Regions from separate parts of the Homo sapiens genome. Here regions 1, 2, 3, 4 and 6 are each linked to region 5. The links are contacts of gene promoters, found by promoter capture Hi-C in blood cells and fetal thymus (Javierre and others, 2016). All regions are on one chromosome and are shown on one strand. Each heading gives the region's core, a stretch centred on a gene start or on the middle of the fragment in contact. The rest is flanking DNA. Distances are from core to core; before and after follow the strand shown.

Evidence for each region. Contacts are between HindIII fragments. The CHiCAGO score rates a contact against its expected background, and 5 or more counts as called.
Region 1: a contact is called between a fragment that was not itself captured here and the fragment with the promoter of ILF2 in region 5, in 1 of 17 cell types (M2 macrophages). The highest score is 5.3, in M2 macrophages.
Region 2: a contact is called between a fragment that was not itself captured here and the fragment with the promoter of ILF2 in region 5, in 4 of 17 cell types (M0 macrophages, M2 macrophages, M1 macrophages and 1 more). The highest score is 9.6, in M0 macrophages.
Region 3: a fragment that was not itself captured here is called in contact with the fragment with the promoter of ILF2 in region 5 in 5 of 17 cell types (M2 macrophages, M1 macrophages, naive B cells and 2 more); the score reaches 9.1 in M2 macrophages.
Region 4: a contact is called between the fragment with the promoter of GATAD2B here and the fragment with the promoter of ILF2 in region 5, in 11 of 17 cell types (M2 macrophages, M1 macrophages, M0 macrophages and 8 more). The highest score is 15.3, in M2 macrophages.
Region 6: a contact is called between a fragment that was not itself captured here and the fragment with the promoter of ILF2 in region 5, in 1 of 17 cell types (M2 macrophages). The highest score is 5.0, in M2 macrophages.

Annotation. Positions count from the first base shown.
Region 1 is chr1:153,834,005-153,836,991 of GRCh38, forward strand. The region is part of intron 1 of GATAD2B (GATA zinc finger domain containing 2B); the gene reads right to left. Among named protein-coding and RNA genes, the nearest start is that of SLC27A3, 60 kb to the left of the region's middle. The HindIII fragment of the contact is 5,159 bases long and covers 1-2,987 here.
Region 2 is chr1:153,810,756-153,813,455 of GRCh38, forward strand. It overlaps GATAD2B (GATA zinc finger domain containing 2B), which reads right to left. Exons shown (of 11, transcript NM_020699.4): 8 at 2,495-2,697; 9 at 1,267-1,377; 10 at 976-1,093. Among named protein-coding and RNA genes, the nearest start is that of SLC27A3, 37 kb to the left of the region's middle. The HindIII fragment of the contact is 1,796 bases long and covers 481-2,276 here.
Region 3 is chr1:153,850,685-153,853,649 of GRCh38, forward strand. All of the region lies in intron 1 of GATAD2B (GATA zinc finger domain containing 2B), which reads right to left. It also overlaps the pseudogene LOC645965. Among named protein-coding and RNA genes, the nearest start is that of GATAD2B, 71 kb to the right of the region's middle. The HindIII fragment of the contact is 1,477 bases long and covers 563-2,039 here.
Region 4 is chr1:153,921,676-153,924,449 of GRCh38, forward strand. It overlaps GATAD2B (GATA zinc finger domain containing 2B), which reads right to left and starts at 1,297. Exons shown (of 11, transcript NM_020699.4): 1 at 1,058-1,297. LOC101928059 (a long non-coding RNA gene) reads left to right here and starts at 1,698. Exons shown (of 4, transcript XR_922160.3): 1 at 1,698-2,287. RefSeq lists silencers at 1,081-1,400, 2,078-2,372 and an enhancer at 1,531-1,770. The HindIII fragment of the contact is 8,959 bases long and covers 1-2,774 here.
Region 5 is chr1:153,669,540-153,672,487 of GRCh38, forward strand. It overlaps ILF2 (interleukin enhancer binding factor 2), which reads right to left and starts at 1,454. Exons shown (of 14, transcript NM_004515.4): 1 at 1,379-1,454; 2 at 632-691; 3 at 297-339. The coding sequence starts at 1,383. It overlaps TRX-CAT1-1 (tRNA-iMet (anticodon CAT) 1-1), which reads left to right and starts at 1,711; the gene lies at 1,711-1,782. RefSeq lists a silencer at 1,474-1,853 and enhancers at 1,894-2,033, 2,584-2,663, 2,674-2,723. The HindIII fragment of the contact is 12,664 bases long and covers 1-2,948 here.
Region 6 is chr1:153,890,507-153,893,257 of GRCh38, forward strand. The region is part of intron 1 of GATAD2B (GATA zinc finger domain containing 2B); the gene reads right to left. Among named protein-coding and RNA genes, the nearest start is that of GATAD2B, 31 kb to the right of the region's middle. The HindIII fragment of the contact is 4,322 bases long and covers 1-2,751 here.

The DNA of each region.
Region 1 (2,987 bases), core at 265-2,764, 160 kb after region 5:
TTTTTTGTTTGTTTTTGAGACAGAGTCTCACTCTGTTGCCCAGTCTGGAGTGCAGTGGCACAACCTCAGTTCACTGCAACCTCCACCTCCTGGGTTCATGCCATTCTCCTGCCTCAGCCTTCCGTGCAGCTGGGATTACAAACGCCCACCACCACGCCCAGCTAATTTTTTGTATTTTTGCTATAGAGATGGGGTTTCACCGTGTCAGCCAGGATGGTCTCGAACTCCTGACCTCGTGATCCGCCCACCTCAGCCTCCCAAAGTGCTGGGATTACAGGCATGACCACCACGCCCAGCCAAGACCCTGTCTCTATAAAAATAAAAATTTAAAAAACCTCCTGGAAATTATTTACCATTGCAGGAGGAAGTAAAACTATTAACATTTTTCTTTTCTTTTTCTTTTTTTTAAGACGGAGTTTTGCTCTTGTTGCCCAGGCTGGAGTGCAATGGTGCGATCTCAGCTCACCTCCACCTTCCAGGTTCAAGCAATTCTCCTGCCTCAGTCTCCCGAGTAGCTGGGATTACAGGCATGTGCCACCCCAGGCCCAGCTAATTTTGTATTTTTAGTAGAGAAAGGGTTTCTCCATGTTGGTCAGGCTGGTCTCGCACTCCCGACCTCAGGTGATCTGCCTGCCTCGGCTTCCCAAATTGCTGGGATTACAGGCATGAGCCACCACGCCCGGCCTAAAACTATCAACACTAACAGGAATTTGAAAGAAGTTGATTATAACTTTCATACATGACCTTTGACAGGTTCAAGGTTTCAATGGAGGAAATGACTGCAAAAGTGGTAGAAACAGCAAGAAAACTACAATTAGAAGGGAGCCTGGGCAAGGCACAGCTGGGATCCCAGCACTGTAATCCCAGCACTTTGGGAGGCTGAGACAGGAGGATCACTTGAGCCCAGGAGTTCGAGACCAACCTGGACAACAAAGTGAGACCCTATCTCTACAGAAAATAAAAAAAAAAATTAGTTGGGCACGGTGGCATGCACCTCACTCAGGAGAGTGAGGTGAGGGGATCGCATGAGCCCAGGAGTTTGAGGCTACAATGAGCTACGATCATGCCACTGCACTCCAGCTTGGGTGACAGACCACAACTGAGTCTCTTTAAAAAACAAACAAAAAACAAAAATTTGAATGGATAAGGAGTTGCTTCTTATGGATGAGCAAAGAAAGTGGTTTCTTGAGATGGAATCTACTCCTGGTAAGATGCTGTGAACACTGTTGAAATGACACCAGAAGATTTAGAATATTCCATAAACTTGAGTTGACAAAGCAGCAGGGTTTGAAAGAAATGACACCAATGTTGAAAGCAGTTCTACTGTGGATAAAATGGTATTAAACAGTACCGCATGCTATATGAAAATCTTTCATGAAAGGAGAGTCAATCCATGTGGCAAACTTCATCATCTTATTTTAAGAAACTGCCAGGTTGGGCAGGCGCAGTGGCTCATGCCTGTAATCTCAAAAAAAAAAAAAAATTGCCAGGTTACCCCAACCTTCAGCAACCACCACACTAATGGGTGAGCAGTCATCCACATGGAGGCAAGACACTCTACCAGCTAAAAGATAATGACTTGCTGAAGGCTCAGATGATTGTTAGTACTTTTTAGCAAGAAAGTGTTTTTTATTTAAGATGTATTCATTGTTTTCTTAGACATAATCCTATTGCACTTAATAGACTACAGCATAATGTAAACATAACTTTTATTTTATTATTATTATTATTTTTTTGAGACAGACTCTTGCTCTGTCGTCCAGGCTGGAGTGGAGTGGCGTGATCTCGGTTCATTACAACCTCTGCCTCCTGAGTTCAAGCGATTCTACTGCCTCAGCCTCCTGAGTAGCTGGGATTACAGGCGCGTACCACCATGCCCAGCTACTTTTTGTATTTTTAGTAGAGACAAGGTTTCACCATGTTGACCAGGCTGGTCTCAAACTCCTGACTTCAAGCAATCCTCCCGCCTCAGCCTTCCAGAGTGCTTGGATTACAGGCGTGAGCCACTGCGTCTGGCCTAAACATAACTTTTATATACACTGGGAAACCAAAAAATTTGTGTGACTTGCTTTATTGCAATATTTGCTTTATTGTGGTGGTCTGGAATGGAACATACAAAATCTCTGAGGTATGTCTATACTTTAGAAAAGTACACAGTAAGGCAGTGGCTTGTGTGTGTAATCCCAGTGACACAAGAGGATCATTGGAGGCTGAGAGTTTGAGACCATCCTGGGAGACTCATCTCTAAAAAAAAATTTGTTTTTTTTTTTTTTTTTTTAGACAGTCTGTCACCCAGGCTGGAGTGCAGTGGCACAGCCTCGGCTCACTGCAAGCCTCCCAGGTTCAAGTGATTCTCATGCCTCAGCCTTCCAAGTAGCTGAGATTACAGGTGTTCGCCACCATACTCGGCTAATTTTTGTATTTTTAGTAGAGACGAGGTTTCTCCATGTTGGCCAGGCTAGTCTTGAACTCCTGACCTCAAGTGATCCGCCCACCTTGGCCTCCCAAAGTGCTGGGATTACAGGCGTGAGCCACTGCACCCAGCCTAAAAAAGTTAAAAAAAAAAGGCATGGTGACTGAAGTGGGAAGATCATTTGAGCCCAGGAGTTTGAGGCTGCAGTGAGCTATGATTGCGCCACTCTACTCCAGCCTGGGTGACAGAGCAAGACCCTGTCTCTTAAGTACACATAGCAAGATATACACATTTAAGTTGATATACTACAGTATTCTAAGTTTTGAGATATATTCACGTGCACTGATAGTATATGACAAAACAACAAAATTCAATAACCTAGAGCTAGAGTTTGGGGTGCCATCATTACCTTGGCTCCTTGAATTGACAATTATACAAACAGCTGAAAGTAAGTCAAATAATTTCCCCTTACTATACATTAATGATTCAAGAAAGAAACTGACCCATCAGAGGTTGTGAGAAACCAGAACCCAGATACCTGAATGTCTGAGGTAAGTCTTTCCTAATAGATAGC
Region 2 (2,700 bases), core at 129-2,628, 140 kb after region 5:
AATTAATTTTGTTTGCTTATTTATCTGAGACAGAATTTCGCTCGTTGCCCAGGCTGGAGGTGCAGTGGCACAATCTCAGCTCACTGCAAGCCCCACCTCCCAAGTTCAAGCGATTCTCCTGCCTCAGCCTCCCGAGTAGCTGGGATTACAGGCACCAGCCACCACGCCGGGCTAATTTTTTGTATTTTCAGTAGAGATGGGGTTTCATCATGTTGGCCAGGGTGGTCTTGAACTCCTGACCTCAGGTAATCCACTCGCTTTGGCCTCCCAAAGTGCTGGGATTATAGGCATGAGCCACCACGCCCAGCCAATTTTTTGTATTTTTAGTAGAGACAGGGTTTCACCATGTTGGTCAGCCTGGTCTTGAACTCCTGATCTCAAGTGATTCGCCTGCCTCGGCCTCTCAAAGTGCTGGGATTACAGGTGTGAGCCACCGCGCCCTGCACAGCAACTTTATTTCAATCCCCACTCATATTCCTAAGCTTTAGGAAAAGGGGACTTCCTGAAATTTCGGTCCTACCAAGAATAATGAACATGCTTCTGATGGTATGGGAGAGACAAGTGAAACAGTGGTGAGAGGAAGATGAATAAGACAGAGAGATAGAATCATTAAATCAGCTTTGATTTTGAGGCTGCAGATTGTGCAGAAGCATCCCTGGATCATTCAAACAGAACAGTTAACCCTGCTGTCCCGGCCAAAAGAGATCAATAACCACATGTCTACTGAAGGGATATTAAAAGTTAAATTGATAATGGTAGGATCTGGGTCATTTTCACCACCAAAACCCTAGTGCATTGTGGGTGGCACTTAATATGAATTTAGCAAACATTTGCTGAGTAACAGAAGAGTGAGAGTGTATGCCCTAAAGAAAGAACAGAAAGTAAAGGAACAATTCCCTTAAAGGGGCTGCTACAGAACTGTATACTAACTAACAGCTGACCCATGAGAAACATTTTCAGATTAATCCTTCTTACCTGGCATACCAAGGAGGCCACCTGGCACAGACAACTGGGGTGCCTGTGCAAAGTTTGAAAGCATGGAGCGGGCAGATGTGGGTATGCCACGCTGGAGGCTGCTCTGGGGCTGTGGAGCCTGCAATGATGAGGAGACAGTGGATACAACTTTGATATGATAGAATGTTAAGCGGGGGCAAAGATAAGGGAGTACAGAAGAAGACTATGATTTCCCACAATAGAAAGGACAAATTGTGATAAATGGCTGATAAATCTTCTAAAGAAATCAGGATCAGGCAAAAAGTTCCTTACCTGCCGAAGCGTATGATGTCTCATGATGGTCTCTTGTTTACTGACACTGGACACAGCTGGAGCCGTAGTGGGGGAGAGGGCTGCCTGCTGCTGTAATCGCTGTTCAATTTCCTGTTGGGAGTCATCACATCAGGTGATTGAGCAGGACAGCACCCAATACCCAATTTCCTTTTTTTTTTTTTTTTTTAAACAGAGACACAATCTGACTTTGTTGCCCAGGCTGGTCTGGCACTCCTGGGCTCAAGCAATCCTCTCACCTTAGCCTCCCCAAAGTGCTGGGATTACAGGCATGAATCACTGCACCTGGCCCACCCAATTTCCTAACCAGAAAACCTGGAGGTGTTCTTACCTCTAATGTTGTTGGCTAGTTGGTGGAATATGGAAAAGGCAAAAGAGTTTGGTGGGGGTGGTACACTGAGATTTCTGGGTATAAGCAGCTAACTTGCTTCAATGATCAAGGGATCCTCCTCTCTTTCTCCAGGAAAGCTGGCTCTAAGAAGTTGGCTGGAGGTGATGAACCAACTGATATAATTAAGGCTGATGAATTACTGGGGTTTTATTTTATCACTTTTTCTTTTCTCTTTTTAAAAATTTTTATTTATTTATTTTTTACCACCAGTCCTAGAGCATAAATGGGGTTTTATTTTTGACTCCTGCCTACCCGATCTTCCAAAAAGTCCATGATGCTACTCAAACAAGGGACTCTGATGGGTGGAGTGGGAAATAGGAAGAAAAGGATCTGAGTTTCCCAACACATTTTTCCTTCTCTAAGATATTCTCATCCTATAACTGCTACATGAGATGTTCACATACTCTAGAACCACTACTCTTCACTGGGCTACTTCATAATTCACTCTTTCTTTCGTCATTTCTTATCAAACACGCACTGCAAATAACTGTTTCAAAGAGATTTATAGCACAAATATAAATTCCTCCCACCAAAATCTATTATTTGTTTTAGGAAAAAATGAAGATGAGAATAGAGTGCTATGGAAAAGCCAAGAGTCCCAAGCTTTCTGTCCCTTTCTGTTAACCTCAGCCATTATATTTTACCATGTTCTTAATCAGAATACTCGCTCAAATGGAAATAGGACACAATGATAAGGAGACAAAAAGGGAACCTGTGGACCTGTAGGGATCACATGAACCACTCCTGCAAACTAGAAGGCGCGACCCTTTGGAAAAAACAAACTGGGACAGGTGGCCAGTGAGCAGTCAGAATTCTTACCTGTTCCTGCTGTAGGGCTTTCACAAATGCATTTTTCAGCCGGTTGGTGTGTTCAGCTTTTAGAGCCTTTTTCTGGTTGGAGGTCATACACTGCTCACATAGAATCTTACCATTCTTTTCTTGCTTCCAGTGAGGGGTGAAATCTGTGCGGCACTGGGCACATACAAAGGGTTCAACCCGCAGAAGTGAGGCACAGCTTTTGCCTA
Region 3 (2,965 bases), core at 51-2,550, 180 kb after region 5:
CTACGCAGGCGGATTGCTTGAGGTGAAGGAGTTTGAGACCAGCCTGGCCAACATAGTGAAACTTCGTCTCTACTAAATAAACAAAAATTAGCCAGGCGTGGTGGTGTGCGCCTATAATCTCAGCTACTCAGGAGGCTGCGGCAGGAGAATCGCTTGAACCTAGGAGGCGGAGGTTGCAGTGAGCCGGGAACGCGCCACTACACTACAGCCTGGGTGACAGAGCAAGACTCCACCTCAAAAAAAAAAAAGTTTTTTTTTGTTTTATTGTGGTAAAAACACTTAACACAAGATCTACCCTCTTAACAAATTTTCAAGTGTACAATACATTAATGTTGACTATAGGTACAGTGTTGTATGGCAGATCTCTAGAGCTTTTTCCCGTTTGACATTAATTTTACATACATTGTTTAGCAACTCCCCAATTTCTCCTCCCCCTCAGCCTTTGGCAACCACCATTTGACTCTGTCAACCTATGAATCTGACTAGATACCTCACATAAGTAGACTCACATAGTTATTTATCTTTCTGTGACTGTATTATTTCCCTTAGCATAATGTCCTCAAGCTTCATCCATGTTGTCACTCTTTGGGATCCTGATTTTATTTTGGATAAATATCTAGAAGCATGATTGCTAGACCATCTGGTAGTTCTATATTTAATATGTCAAGGAACCTCCATACTGTTTTCCATAGTGGCCGCTTGTACCATTTTGCATTCCCACCAACAGTGTGCAAGGGTTCCAATTTCTTCACTCCCTTGCCACTTAAAAAAAATAGCCATCTTGACATTGACAGGTGTGAAGTGATGATATTTCATTGTGGTTTTGATGTGTACTTCTCTGATGATTAGCAATGTTGAGCAATTTTTCATATACTTGGCCACTTTTATGTCTTCTTTGGAGAATGTCTATTCAGGTCCTTTGTCCATTTTTTTTTTAATCTTACAGTGAATTATATTGAATTCAAAGGTAGTATTCCTATTTGAGAAATAAAAAACTAAAATCAAGTTGTACAAGCAATCATCATGAGATAAATCAGTAAAGAGGCCTGCTCAGATCATACCAGAGCAGACACCAGTTTCTACCCCAGCCCGCATGAAGATGTTTTTATTCAACACAAACAGTAACAGAGGGTAACACAATGGCCACAGAATGAGAACATAAGTGCACTTGAATTTTTTGTGAGTTCTGGCTAGGCTCTAACAAGCCTAGCATTCTTTTCTTACCAGGTGAACAGAAATCATCTGCTAAAGCCAGAAACTTTAAAGCTCTTAATCCAGCTGGAAATAACTATAATTGAGGGCCTTTTTACTAGCTACTTGCTTCCCAATTTAGGGTTGCCTAGCAGGGTTAATTTCAACATAACGAAAGGTGTTAACTGGCTGGCCGCATCATTCACTGGTGACAGGGGCAAGTTTAATGAGTTTTGTGCTCAGATCGCTGGGCCTCCTGGCTGCTCTTGTCCATCTCTGCACTTTGGTCCTAAGCATTCTGAGACTCAGTCAGTTGAGGGTGAAAGGGACCTACCAGCCAGTTGAGGGGCATGTTGTTAACAAGAAATCCATCAAGTCATCTAAAGATTCCTTCATTTTCTGCAGCTGCCCCTTGCTAGAAGTGGAGGCTGTCAGACACTTCCTCAAAGGAGGCAGCATTGCAGAACACTGAGTAGATGTCGCCTGCCATCACCCTCATATGCTTGGCCTGACCTTGGATGTTCTGTGGTCATCATGGATGTTGGACAGAAGGCCGTGGCATGTGGTCTGGAGCTGCTAAGTCAGGTTGCAGGCAATAGCAAGAGTACGTGACTCGATGTGCTCTGCACAGTGGGACTCATCAGTATCATCGTATCCAATATTCCTTTTCCACTCCACCCATGAGAGCTAGAGCTTATCCTGAGCATCCTGAATTTTCTGATTGGCACTATGCACACTCTTCCTGGCAAATTCAATCAAGTGAACAGAAGAACGGAGCTGAGAAATGGTCTCTTGGCTTTTTTGCTTAGCTTCTTTAACCCTGCTGAGAGCCTGCTCATACGAAGTGAAGCTTGGTAGACAGGGAGTGAAGCTTGGTAGACAGGGATCCCAGTCTAACATAACAACTTGGCTTCTGAACCATATCATATCCTTCAACTTTTTTTGCTTCTTTTTCTAGTTCTTCCCCAGTGAGAGGGAGGTACTGTCCTACCAAGAGCTCTGATTTGGTGAGCGCATGTTCCAAGCCACTGCTCATGAGCTGCATTATCTGACTTCCTAAGCTTGTGTTAATGCTGCCACTGACACAGACTTGGGTCTTCTCCACAGTGCCAGTCACTACCCCTTTGGTCTTGTCCATCAACCCTGTGATGAATCCTTGGCCCCAGTCACAGTAGTCGTCACAGCATCTTTTGCCCCAGTCACAGCACCTTTGGCATTGGCAACAACCTGAGTTGATGGCTGATTCAGAATAGGCAGTCTCTCCTCAATCCTGTCTAGCCCCTTACAGACACGGATATTGGCAACTGCAATTTGCAGCTCTAGCTTCTGGATGATGGGCAGAGCACACTGGTCATGGCCACCGAGGTGATGGTCTTCACACCCTTCCCTGCCATCTCACACACAGACTTCAAGTAGGACACTGGTCCTTTGTACTGACATGGGCTGAGGACATGGGGTCATATGTGGAGCTCATCAAGGGCAGGTTGACCACCCGAGTCATCACACTCAGTTGTGGATCAACTGCAACAGATGCCATTTTTCTTCCTGGAGAAATAAATCAACGGACGGCAGTGAAGCGCCTATTTTTTAATATACATATATTTTTTGCTACTGAGTTGTATGAGTTCCTTACATATGTTGGAGATTAACCCCTTATCAAATATATGGTTCACAAACATTTCCTCACATTTTGTAGATTGCCTTTCCATTCTGCTGTTTGCTGTGCAGAAGCTTTTTAGGTTGATGCAGTTCCACTTGCTTTTGTTGCCTGTGT
Region 4 (2,774 bases), core at 47-2,546, 250 kb after region 5:
GATTTTCCAGGGGACAACAGAGAAAAGGTTGCTAGCTAGCTCAGTTAGCATCCACATGCCACCCACCACCAAGCCTCCATCTCCACCTCACTGCCAGCCCTATGAGCTAACATCTTGTGTTTGGAAGTTGATGCTGGGGAAGAATCCAAAGAGGCTACCATACCTTTATGAAACGGGAAAGCTGTACCGGGCGCGCGAATGGCACCTGAACCTCTGCACTCGCATGAGTGGCTCGCTCCTCAATGTAATTGAGAGCAGGGAGGCCAAAAGTACTCTAAGTCCCGGTGTGGTTAGGGAAGGGTAAGTTCCACCGACCCTCAGGAACTGAACTGGAAGACAGATCCAGTGTGTCCCACAAGCCCAGTCGCTGTAGAAGCTAAGTGCCCACATAGCCTGAGACAATTCTCTTCCCCTACGGGAGGGCGAGCGAACGGTGGACGACGAAATAAAGGGGTAAGGTTATGCGCTCCTGATCCCTTTCCCTAAATAAAGATAATTATCTGGTGCTTCCTTTACCCTTAGATTCCCCATTCGTCCCATCCGCCCGCAAACACAAGACTGAGCAGGGAGCGGCCCCCGCACCCTGAGGGCACCACTGGGGGTGGAGAGAGTTAAAAAAAAAAAGGGGGGGGCGCGCTAGAGAGGAAAGGAGGGGAGCATGGCGGGCATGAGGCAGGGAGTGAAAGCGGGGATGGCGGGGGAAACGGGGCGTGAGGGAGGGGAGAAAGAGTACAAGGAGACGAAATGAAGGGACACGAGCTGGGGGCGCGCGAGGCCGAAGTGAAAGACCGGGTCGCGCGCGCCAAGGGGGGAGAGGATGAGGTGAAGAAGGAGCGCGAGGCGGGGGCGCGCCGTGCCGGGGTGGGGGGAGGGGGACGCAAGGCGGGGGCGCGCGGGCGGGCGTCGGCTCGCGGGCGCTTCCCCTCCCCCCGCCCCTCCACCTTTCCCTTCCCCCACCTCCGCCACCACTGCCTCCTCCCAGCCTCCTTCCCTTCCTCGCTCCTCACCGCCCCCGGGCGGGCGGGCGGCCAGGCTGGCCTAGGCCAAAGCTCCTCACCTGGCGGTGGCGGTGTAACTCCCGGCTAGCTCGCCTCCTCAGGCGGCGGCGGAGGCGTCGAAAAAGGAAGAGGCGACGGCACAGGGGATCCAGACCCTGCTGACGGGACTAGGGACGGGGGTAGGGGAGGGGGGCGGGCCGGACCGGGGCGGGCGGGCGGAGCAGACACTGCGGTACAGACGGGGGCAGCGGCGGCGGCGACGGCTGCACCGGCGGCGGCGGCACCACACAAACAAGGACGCTGATTGGGCAGCTGCCAAGCGCCTCGGCTCCGCCTTACCCACACGCCACGACGCCCATTGGGCGACCTAAGCCGGCCACCCCGCCCTCATCTTCTCGGCCATGCCAGTAGAAGACTAGATGCCGGGACTTCACCCCACCCTTGAAGAATGAGTGGCCGGAGAAGTGATGATTGGCGTGCTTAAAACCCAATCATAAACGGAGGAGGGGGGATGGTCTAGCGGGGGCGCGTTAATGGGTACCTCTGCCAGTCCCAGACACATCCGGGTCTTCGACAGCCCATTAAGTGTCGGGGGTCAAAAAATCGCTTCAGGCTGCAACTTTACCTTAGAGACGTTTTGGTCCCCAGGCAGCCGCCGTACCCCAGTCTCTCCAAACCGGGATTCCCCTTTGGCCATCTCTCATTCTTTCAATTCTAAAGATGGAGACTGGCGAACGGCGATGGGGTCTGCGGTGGGCGGTGTTTCGTCGCGACAGACTCTAGGAAATTTCACGATAGAACTAGCTTTAGGCGCTTGAGCCTTGCCGTCTTTTTGGGGTGTGGCCTGTCTCCGTCTGCCAAAGGCTTTGAGCTTCCTGGTGTTCATCGTACCTCCGCTTGGTCCTGTCGTGACTAAACCACGACAGCAGGAAAAAAAAAAAAGCAGCTAGCCAAGTTGCTGAGGAATTACGGTGTGCAGAGCCCTCGCAGCTCCTTCTCTTGGGAACTCCTGGTCTGGTTAGGTTCTCAGCGAGGAAACAGCCTCCCACCCCGCCCGATTCCACCTAATTAACTCAAGGGCCAGCTCCTTTTGCTGGCCTCCCTGCTTCCACGGAGCAGTTAGGCCCGCCTAAACTCAGCGAGCGTTTCTGGAGCACCTTGAGGATAGGGACCAAGTAACAGAGTCCGGGTGTTAAGGTTATGATAGTAGTTAACGTTTTTGGAAAGAGACTGTGTCAGGCTCTGTGCTAAGAACTTTACATGAAGTATTTATTCCTCATGACTGTGAGGTAGGTACTGTTATCCCTACTTTACAAATGAGGAAAATTAGGATCAAAAAATTTGTCCAGTTACACGTTAAGTGGTAGAGCTGAAATTTGAACCCAAGTAGATGAGGAAACTAAGGCTCAGAGAGGTTAAGTAACTTGCCAAAGGTCAGACCGCTAGTTAGTGACTAAGCAGTGGTTTAAACCCAGAAACAACTGGTTCCACAGGCATTTTGTTATTGTTGTTTTCTCACTGTGTCTCCCAGGCTGGAGTGCAGTGGTACAATCTCAGTTCCTGCAACCTCCGCCTCCCAGGTTCAAACGATCCTCCTGCCTCAACAGCCTCCCGAGTAGCTGGGATTACAGGCGCGCGGCTAATTTTTGTGTTTTTAGTAGAGACGGGGTTTCGCCATGTTGGCCAGGCTGGTCTCGAACTCCTGACCTCAGGTGATCCTCCTGCCTCAGCCTCCCAAAGTGCTGGGATTACAGGTGTGTGAGCCACCACGCCAGC
Region 5 (2,948 bases), core at 204-2,703:
TCCCGGGTTCAAGCAATTCTCCTGCTTCAGCCTCCCAAGTAGCTGGGATTAGACACATGCCCAGCCAACTTTTTTATTTTTAGTAGAGACGGGGTTTCACCATATTGGCCAGGCTAGTCTCAAACTCCTGACCTTCAGGTAATCCATCTGCCTCGGCCTCCCAAAGTGCTGAGATTACAGGCGTGAGGCACTGTGTCTGCCCTCTTCAACCACCATCTAACTTCATTAACTGGGAGATACTGGGCTCCATTTCAACAGTGACCAGAAAATGTGTATCATTAACCCAAGGTACTCACCAAATAGAAGTCAAATGGGATATGTGGTACAAAGGGCCTGAACCTAAAACATGAAAAACAGCCAAATTATTCCCTAGGTAGGAATCAAGCGAGATGTAAATAACACGCCAACAATTTTGAAAACATGTCAGTCCTCAGAATGAGTGACAAAGTCTCCGGGGAGGGAAAGAATCATTCTTAGCATAGTGGGGCCAAATTCATTTAACAGGAGTGCAGGAAAAGACCACAGTTGGCTCTCGCAAAACCAAGTGACATTAGTCTACTCTAAAACTCCTATTTAGATGACAAGCAGAAACTAACAACCAAGTGCAGAGATGCTAAAAGCTGGTACTCACCCTCCTCCTGGGCCTCCTCTGGAACCAAAGCGCCCACCACGACCACGGCCTCTGTCACCCCTAGAAATGCAGATTTTATTTTGACCTCATTGAAGGAATACCCACCGGCCATATCATCTTAGGTTGGCTACTTTCATCCCTCGGAACCTCCCAACGGTAGGCAAGAGACCCCACTCACACTTACACTTGTCCCCATTCCAAATGGTGCCCAGTTACACCCCCATAACCTCCTCTAAGTTAATCCAACCCCCATCAAGTAATGATGGGGCTCAGTGAGCCCTACACTTAATAACCCATAATCCTGGGCCACACGAATCCTAATACTTCGGAGGCTAAAGATTGCTCATTTCTTCACTAAGGTACACATTTATCGGGCGTGTCCTAATGTCAAGGCCTTCGCACTGAGGATGAATGCGGCTCGCTCCAGCATTCTCAGCCCGGATGACGGGGGCGGGGGAAAGGTGGGGAGCTCCTCCAGGGGCTTGAGGACACCCCCTCATCGCAACCCTTCAGAGACAAAGGTGTCGAACCCCCCTCCCCACTCCTGGGCCCGAACCCCATCCCGGGCCCAAGTTTCCCCGCCTCTACCGGCCTCCATCTCTCCCACTATCCTAGACCAGGAGTTCTCAGGTTTTTGGCCAGCCCCCGGATACATGGCCCTTTCTGATACTCCGACTTCTTTCGGCCCACGTTCACAAAGTTTTCCGTCGAATACCTGAAACCTTTCGACCGCTTCGACCCACTTACCTCATGGCGCCTTAAAACACGAACAATGGAGGCCGCACCAACCGCCCCTTCCTCTGAGTAGCAGACAACTGAAGAGGCGTCTTGCCGGCGTGTCCCAATAAAACCCGGTGCGATTGGCTCCCGCCTTACCCCATCGCTTATGCCTATTGGCTTACTTTGTCAAACCGGGCTTATGAACCAATAAAAAACGCCTACTGTGTCAGGAACTAGCCAATAAGAACTGGTTCTATAGTAATGACGAATTTTTGATCAGACATTAGGTGGCACTAAAGAAGTCAGGACAACGACTACGTAGTGTTCTATAACAATCATGAGAAATTTTAGTTCTAGATAGCAGAGTGGCGCAGCGGAAGCGTGCTGGGCCCATAACCCAGAGGTCGATGGATCGAAACCATCCTCTGCTATCGGAGTTTTTTCATTGCCCTGTACGGCATACGTAATCTACGTTTCTTTAGTGAAGGAAAATATCTTGCCAATTTTCCTACCTCAAAAATGCAACCAATATCAGCTATTTTTGCCACTAGCAGTTGAAGTTGATGGGGAAAAGGGAGTTTAGGCAACTATGAACACTGCACGTCTACAAACTCGAAGCAGGAGAAACAGGTTTTAGATAGGAGAGGAGTATATTGATTGAATTAGTGTGGAAAACATGGTTTTCCATGTCCATGGAAACAGGTGATCCACCCGCCTCAGCTTCCGAAAGTGCTGGGATTACCGGCGTGAGCCACAGCGCCCAGCTTGGTTACATAAATTCTTTAGTGGTGATTTGTGAGATTTTGGTGCACTCATCACCCGAGCAGTATACACTGAACCCAACTTGTAGACTTTTATCCCTCACCTACCTCCCTTCCATAAGTACTTTTTCGATATTTAATTTACTACAGCAGAACGTAAACATCTTAAGTCTAAACGTATTCTGGCCACGTAACCACCATCCAGATTAAAATAAATATTATTAATTTTTAAAAAACAAGCAAACAAAAAGCGGACCGAGTGCGGTGGCTTGTGGCCACCCAGCACTGTGGGAGGCCGAGACGGGTGGATCACCCGAGGTCAGGAGTTCGAGATCAGCCTGGCCAACATGGTGAAACTCCGTCTCTACTAAAAATACAAAAATTAGCCGGCGTGCTGGCGGGCGCCTGTAATTCCAGTTACTCAGGAGGCTGAGGCAGGAGAATCTCTTGAATCCGGGAGGCGGAGGTTGCAGTGAGCTGAGATGGCGCCACTGCACCCCAGCCTGGGCGATAGAGGGAGACTCCGTTTAAAAAAAAAAAAATCTTACTTGAGGTTTGTTGAGCTTCTTGAATCAATGGCTTCAGGTTTGTCGTCCATTTATTAAATTTATCAGCTATTATCTCTTCAAGTATTAGTTTTACCTATTATTTCCCTCGTTCCTGAACTCCAAATAAAGACGGGTTAGACTTTTCCCCCAGTAATCTCTTTGTCTCTTACCCTCTCTTCTATTATTTCATTTTATTTAGACACAGGGTCTCACTCTGTTGCCCAGGCTGGAGTGCAGTGGTGCACCATCATAGCTCACTGCAGCCTCAACCTCCTGGCCTCAAGAGAC
Region 6 (2,751 bases), core at 165-2,664, 220 kb after region 5:
ACAGAACAAGAAACAGGCTTTCTTGCTTCCCAGCCAGCCTGGCAGCTGCTCTTGGTTGGGGGCCATCCTGAACCTAAGACAGAAAGCTGGTGGCCGCAGAGGATGAAAAAGCGGCTGGAGTTGATCAACTCTAGGCTCCAACTTATTTAAAGTGAAATTGGTCATCCTCACCAACTGCCCATCTTTAAGGAAATCCAAAACAGAGTACTAAACACCATGTTGGCCAAAACTGGCATCCATCATTACAGTGACAATAACTGTAAGGCATGTAGAAAATACTACAGAGTTTGTACACTGGCTATCGTTAACCCAGGTGATTCTGCTATCATTAAACGCATGCCAGAACAGACTGGCAAAAAGTAAACCATGCAAAGTTTTTCTTTAATAAAATGTGCCGACAGGTGCGGTGGCTCACACCTATAATCCCAGCGCTTTGGGAGGCCGAGGTGGGAGGATCACCTGAGGTCAGGAGTTCAAGACCAGCCTGACCAACATGGCAAAACCCCGTCTCTACTAAAAATACAAAAATTAGCCAGGTGTGGTGGTGGGCACCTGTAATCCCAACTACTCAGGAGGCTGAGGAAGGAGAACTGCTTGAACCTGGGAGGCGGAGTTTGCAGTGAGCTGAGATCGCACCATTGCACTCCAGCCTGGGCGACAGCGAGATTCCGCCTCAAAGAAACACACAAATAAAAAAGGAAAAGAAAGGAAAGGAAAAAGGGAAGGGAAAGGAAAGAAAGAGGTGAAAAAAAAAGGAAAGGGAAGAAAAAAGGGAAGGCAGCCGGGAGTGGTGGTTCATGCCAGTAATCCCAGCATTTTGGGAGGCCAAGGTGGGTGGGTCACTTGAGGTCAGCAGTTCAAGACCAGCCTGGCCAGCATGGTGAAACCCCATCCCTACTCAAAATATAAAAAATTAGCTAGGTGTGGTGGCGGGCACCTGTAAATCCCAGCTACTTGGGAGGTTGAGGCAGGAGAACTGCTTGAGCCCAGGAGGCAGAGTTTGTAGTGAGCTGAGATCGTGCCACTGCACTCCAGCCTGGGCAACAAAAGTGAAACTCTGTCTCGTTTAAAAAAAAAAAAAAAAAAAAAAAAGAGGTGGGGGGGAGAGGCAAAGGGAAGGAAAAAGGAGAGGGGAAGGGTAAGAGGAGGTAAGTATGGGGGGGGGGGAGGGGAGGGAAAAGAAGTAGATTAAGTTCTGTCTCCAAAGAAAGAGATGTCCTTTTTTACTGTAAACTTTTTCCAATTGTAAATTCTGTACCATGTGCATATATCACCTATCCAAAAACTGACTAAAATTTAAAAATAAAAGGAATGGCTAGATTTAACATAATTACTAAAAGACATAAGCACAATGAAAATTAGGGACAGAGTTTATGGCCGGGTGCAGTGGCTCATGCCTGTAATCCTAGCACTTTGGGAGGCTGAGGCGGGCGGATCATGAGGTCAAGAAATCGAGACCATCCTGGCCAACATGGTGAAGCCCCGTATCTACTAAAAACACAAAAATTAGCCAGGCATGGCGGTGGCAGACGCCTGTAGTCCCAGCTACTCGGGAGGCTGAGGCAGGAGAATTGCTTAAACCCAGGAGGCGGAGGTTGCAGTGAGCCGAGATCATTTCACTGCACTCTAGCCTGGCAACAGAGTGAGACTCCGTCTCAAAAAAAAAAAAAAAAAAAAAAGAAAAGACAAGACAATTAGGGACAGAATCCCCAGGCCTAGCTAGAAGCAGCATAAGTCACTCACAAAACTCAAGAGTAAAACAGGTAACAAGACTATTATAGTATATAGAACACTACCACTAGTTAAGGTAAGACACACTAAAGGCTAAAGATCAGATATCTAGGAAAAAAGATCTAGCTGACCAAATATTAAACATACTAATAAGTATTCCCTCCTATTGAATCCAAGGGAAAAATAAATAAACTGATAAGTAAAGGGGTCTTTCAGGGTCAAAGCATCATCACTCACCTAGAACTCTCTAGACTGTAGAGGGATACATGAATACATAGCTGCTCATAACAATTGACTAGTAAATGGTCAAGGAGTTTAAAATCAGAATTGATGGATAAGATATGCCAATGTGAAATTCTGGACATTCATCGCTTCTGTCCAACAATATTATAAAATAATTTTGTCATCAAAATGGGCCCAACATTAGACAGTATCCAGTAGACTTGTAAGAAACCTTTTTTTTTTTTTTTTTTTTTTGAGACAGTCTCCCTGTGTCACCCAGGCTGGAGTGCAGTTGTGCCATCTTGGCTTATTGCAACCTCTGCCTCCCGGGTTCGGGCAATTATCCTACCTCCGCCTCCCAAGTAGCTGGGACTACAGGCACGTGCCACCACGCCTGGCTAATTTTTGTATTTTTAGTAGAGACGGGGTTTCACAATGTTGGCCAAGCTGATCTTGAACTCCTGACCTCGTGATCCACCCGCCTCGGCCTCCCAAAGTGCTGGGATTATAGGTGTGAGCCACTGCGCCCGGCCAAGAAATCTTCTTTATTGAAATGAGGGAAGAAAATATTCATGCAGAGGAGTGGATCAAGTTCTGTGAGGCTGTACCTAAACACAGTACAAGAGGAAAAACTTGTCTGGTCTGGATTTTACCTAGAGGAAACTTCTAGCAGTCTATTAGCTGAGATTTGCCCATTAGCATTGATGAGCACATGGAACCTACAGGAAAAACAGTGACACTTTTCTTCAATTCAGTGACATAAAGATTTGTCAAAATTCTGACTGTTGTTACGAGGAT